2 separate regions of the Homo sapiens genome follow, and region 1 is linked to region 2. Evidence: promoter capture Hi-C in human tissues and cell types (Jung and others, 2019). All regions are on one chromosome and are shown on one strand. The core of a region is centred on a gene start or on the middle of the fragment in contact, and the rest is flanking DNA. Distances in the headings are between cores, read along the strand shown.

Evidence for each region. Contacts are between HindIII fragments. The study calls those that stand out against the background at their distance.
Region 1: a contact is called between a fragment that was not itself captured here and the fragment with the promoter of AHSG in region 2, in 2 of the 25 tissues and cell types used here (liver and ovary).

Annotation. Positions count from the first base shown.
Region 1 is chr3:186,655,524-186,658,223 of GRCh38, forward strand. All of the region lies in intron 1 of HRG-AS1 (HRG and FETUB antisense RNA 1), which reads right to left. Among named protein-coding and RNA genes, the nearest start is that of HRG-AS1, 8.8 kb to the right of the region's middle. RefSeq lists an enhancer at 2,104-2,623. The HindIII fragment of the contact is 4,825 bases long and covers 1-2,700 here.
Region 2 is chr3:186,611,734-186,614,433 of GRCh38, forward strand. AHSG (alpha 2-HS glycoprotein) reads left to right here and starts at 1,327. Exons shown (of 7, transcript NM_001622.4): 1 at 1,327-1,621. The coding sequence starts at 1,409. The HindIII fragment of the contact is 10,895 bases long and covers 1-2,700 here.

The DNA.
Region 1 (2,700 bases), core at 194-2,693, 44 kb after region 2:
AAAGGTAAGTGAACATCTGAAATTCTGAACTTCAGTGAACTTCATATGTCATCAAAGAAATGCAAATTATAACAACGAGATATCACTACATATCCGTCAGAATGGCCAAAATCCAGAACACTGACAATACTAAATGGTAGCAAGGATATGGAGCAAAAGGAACTTCTCATTCATTGCTGCTGGGAATGCAAATGGTACAGCCACTTTGGAAGACAGTTTGGCAGTTACTTTCAAAACTTAACATACTCTTATCATATGCTCCAGTAGTCACACTCCTTGGTATTTACCCAAATGATCTGAAAACTTATGTCCATAGAAAAACCCACACATGAATATTCACAGCACATCTGCTCATAATTGCTAAAATTTGGAAGCAACAAACTGTCCTTCACCAGGTGAGTGGATAAGTAAATCCTGACAATGGAATATTATTTGGCACGAAAAAGGAATATGAATATCGAGCCACAAAAAGACATGGAGGAAACTTAAATACATATTACTGAGTGAAAGAAACCAATCTGAAAAGATTAACTACTGTATGGTTCCAACTATATGACATTTGGAAAAGGCAAAATTATGAAGACAGTAAAAAGATCACTGGTTGCCAGTGGTTAGCAAGGAGACAGGGATGGACTATGTGGAGCACAGAGGATTTTTAGTCAGTGAAACTATTCTGTATGCTACTACAATGGTGGATACATTTCATTATACATTTGTCAAAACCCATAGATGTACAACATCAAGGATGCATGCTGATGTAAGCCATGGACTTTAGGTTATAACTATGTGTCAGTGTAAGTTCATCGGTTGTAACAAATGTGCTGCTAGTGTTCAGAGGTTTATAGCAGGGGAGGCTGTGAGCGTGAGGGGCAGATGTAGGGACTACATAGGAACTCTATACTCGCCACTCAGCTGTACTGTCAACCTAAAACTGCTCTAAAAATTAAAGCCCATTTTTAAAGTAAATTAACAAAATGGATACATTAAGCCTGATAAAAACTGCATTTTCTTTAAAAAGTGACTCCTATTACAAAAAAATTAAATGTCATAAAATTCTGTCAACCAGTCTAGTGATTCTCAAAGACATAGTCAGAGATTTACAAAGAGGTCCACTGTAGCATTACTTATAAGAACAAATAATTGGAAACAATATACATGGCCAAAAATTGGGGAATGTTGAATACATTAACACGTACATAACATCCAATATTATGTAACCTCAAAAATAATCTTTCTGAAGAATATTTAATGATCTGAGAAAGTCCTCATGGTATAACCTTAAGGGAAAATACAATATTTAAGCCATATATAACAAGGGATTTTTAAAAGTCCTTCTCTTGGGAAAGAGTTTGGGAGGTAAAGAATGGAGGAAAGAGACTTAATTTTTATTTTACAATATTCTAAAATATTGTTTGCTTTTTTACTTTGTGCAGGGATTGTGTTTATGACTAAAAACTGTATACTTAAAATAACAAAATTTTAAAATCCTATAAAAACACAAAAACATTTATAAAGCTTATATGGTTTCTATTAATACCTGAAAAAAATAGAGGTTATAAGTAAATACATGCTCAACTACAGTGGAGGGAAAGAAACACCTGTATGTACAGAATAATTCTAATGATGCAAAACATATATATTACATATATTCAAATAGCAAAAAGTGTATGAAGCAATTATGCATTATAAATAGTTGGTTTTCCTTATGGTTGTAGAATTAGAGGTGAATTTTCTTTATGCTTTTCGTATTTTCCATATTTTTTGCAAAAAGCATGTGTTCTATTATGAGTCAAAAAGGTTTAAAGAATAAAAATTCTGTTAGCTAACTCTTTTTTCTGATACAATGGTCAGGACACACAGAAATAACCTAAATGCAGAATGAAAATGTGAAGACGGCAGGGCGCAGTGGCTCATTCCTATAATCACACCACTATGGGAGGCTGAGGCGGGTGGATCACCTGAGGTCAGGGGTTCGAGATCAGCCTGACCAATATGGTGAAACCTTGTCTCTACTAAAAGTACAAATTTTAGCCAGGCGTGGTGGTGGGCACCTGTAGTCCCAGTACTCAGGAGGATGAGACAGAAGAATTGCTTGAAACTGGGAGGTGGAGGTTACAGCAGTGAGCTGAGATGGCACCACTATACAACAACCTAGGCAACAGAGCAGGTGAGACTTTGTCTCAAAAAAAAAAAAAGAAAGAAAAGAAAAGGTAAAGATGAAGATTCTACCTGCCCAGTCTGCCCAGATAGTGTCAGGCCTCTGAGCCTAAGCTAAGCCATCATATCCCCTGAGACCTGCACATACACATCCAGATGGCCGGTTCCTGGCTTAACTGATGACATTCCACTACAAAAGAAATGAAAATGGCCTGTTCCTGCCTTAACTGATAGCATTATCTTGTGAAATTCCTTCTCCTGGCTCATCTTGGCTCAAAAGCTCCCCTACTGAGCACCTTGTGACCCCTACTCCTGCCTGCCAGAGAACAACCCCTCTTTTTCCTTTACGTACCTAAATCCTATAAAATGGCCCCACCCCATCTCCCTTCACTGACTCTTTTTGGACTCAGCCCACCTGCACCCAGGTGATTAAAAGATTTATTGCTCAGACAAAGCCTGTTTGGTGGTCTCTTCACACGGACACACATGAAATTTGCTGCCGTGACTCGGATCAGGGGAACTCCCTTGGGAGATCAATCCCTA
Region 2 (2,700 bases), core at 77-2,576:
AGCTTCTGACATTAAGATTCGGTGTGGTGTGTGAGCAGCTGGGAGTAAATGTGAGAACAGTCCTGCCAACTACCTTCTCTGCCCCATCACCACTCACTTCACCTCCCTCACCCCGATTCTCACCCCAGAAAATCAATATTAAGCTTCCCTTTGGAGGGGCCCCTCTTCTTTCTTTTTTTTTTAACCAGTTTTTTTTTCTCTGAAGCAATATCAAACATTAGAACAAATTCACCCACACACAATGATGGCCTCTAAATATTTGAAGACCATGTTGGTCTCCATGAGAGGGCTTCTTTGCTTCAGACTAAACCAAACCAGGTCCTTGTGTGATATTTCCCAAGCCTCTCTTTATCCTGCCAACCCTCCTTGGATGTCACACTTGGAATTGTCAAGGGTCACTTAATAGGCAGTGCCTGGAGTCAACACTGGCCCTCTGTTCTGGCCAGAAAGACACACTGTAATTCTGCTGAGTCTGCAAAGAATGTTCAAGGGGTATTTGTGTCCGTAGCTGCTCGTGCAGCATCTCAGCCTGCGGTGTCAGACTCGAACCCAGAGCTGTGTCAAATGAGTCAGGACTCCCCTCTGCTGCCCTTGTGCACTGGCAGGGGCACTAGGTTACTAGTGCTAGGAGACTCTGGTCAGTGCCCATCTGTGCTGTCACATGCAGGGCCCTGGCAGTGAGGTCTGGAGAAGGAAGAGAAGGGGCAGGGAACCCCACACGTTTTGCTGGTCATTTCCCACCGTGGTCCTGCCACGGGAACCCCCTTCTTCCACCTCCATTCCCCACTTTAGGCAGAAACATCTCTCATCCTTTTTCTTTTCTCCAAGAATCTTCCCCCAAAATCTTGGCATCTCCTATACACATCTGTACCTTTGCTATATCTGTGGGCCTTGTTCTCCCTGTAGGACTCCTCTTGGAAAGCTAACTCCCCCTGACATTGGAGAATTTTATCAAATTGCTGAGTATCCTCCCTTCCCTCTCACAGACCCCATGGCATGCTCAGATCACAGTAGAAGACATTTCCTCTGCTGCCAAACCCATGGCACTCTGAGGCTGACTGTGTCCACCTCATTCCCTCAGCTGTCTTCTCTTTGCTGCTATTACCATGTTCCAAGCAGACTTTGGAGCATCTCCCCCACAGCAGCATGGACTTTGGCAGATTTCTTGGGGACCAGCGATGTCCTAACCTGTTTGCTTTTCCAGGGCTGATGTTTGCAGGGTGTTTTTTTTTTTCTTTTGAACCAAAGCAGAAATCATCCTGTATCCTTATGCAATTCTTCCGGCAGGCTCCAACAGATAAATAAAGCCCACCACCCTCCATGGGTCTACCTTTCCCAGCAGAGCACCTGGGTTGGTCCCGAAGCCTCCAACCACCTGCACGCCTGCCAGGGCCTCTCTGGGGCAGCCATGAAGTCCCTCGTCCTGCTCCTTTGTCTTGCTCAGCTCTGGGGCTGCCACTCAGCCCCACATGGCCCAGGGCTGATTTATAGACAACCGAACTGCGATGATCCAGAAACTGAGGAAGCAGCTCTGGTGGCTATAGACTACATCAATCAAAACCTTCCTTGGGGATACAAACACACCTTGAACCAGATTGATGAAGTAAAGGTGTGGCCTCAGGTAAGTGGACCTGCTGTCTATGAGCTGAAATAATGTGTACATGGAGCTCAATCAGGTGCCTCAAAAAATCACCATCACCCAGTGCAAATGAAACCACAGAGGAGTAAATTCTCTGATTTCTTCCCAGGAGTGAGGGAAGGGGCAGGCAGAGGGCAGGAGAGGAGACATTCTGTATGGCAGTCATGGGTGTCAGGAGGGAGCTGGGTGGGGTGTGAGGTGGTGTGCAGGAGAAAAAGTGCTTCAAATGGTAGTGTGCAGATCACAGACAGAAAGTGTAACTTGCTGGAAAAACTAGGACCCAAGAGACCAGCTCCTAGTTGCCAAGTTACCACTGGCTGAAAATCACGTATCTGTCTTTGGTTTGGTTTCTCTCTAACAAAGACTGAGAATGAATAAAACTAGCATCTGGCAGATGCCTACTATATGCCAGGCCCATTCACATAGATTATCTCATTTACTCTTTCCCGGTCCTGCCTCCTGGTGCTGTGTGGTACATATATTGTTCTTGTCTTACCCAAGAGGAGACCAAGGCTCTGTTGTGTGTGTGTGTGCAGTTTTTTTGTTTTTTGTTTTTGTCTTTTTTTTTTTGGTCCAAAATCATATAATTACTAAGTCTTCAGGCTGGGATTTGATTCCATATCTGTGTTCCTTCTTCTACACAAACTGCCTCCCAAAGAGAGTTACCCACATCCCAGAGAGAAGTCTTGGCATAAACACAATTCACCTCCTCACACACTAGACAGGAAACCAACGCAGCTTGAAGCCAGTGACAAGAAAAATCAAGCTGGAAATATGCCTCGGGGATCAGTCAAGAGATTTGGAGAGGTGGAAAGAAGCTGTCTGCCTACTGCCTGTTTTGAAATTAGATTTATTTCTGATTAAGGACAATTCTTTCAGCAAATATGTATTACAAGCCTTCCTTGGACAAGAACCAGAGATATTAGGTTGAACCATATAAAACTGCCATTTTTCTATATCAAAAGCAACCAAATATTGGCCGTTTTAATGGTTCAACCTAATACAGTGGTGAAAAAGGCACAATATGTGCCCACAAGAGCTTACAATCTAGGTTGGAAAAT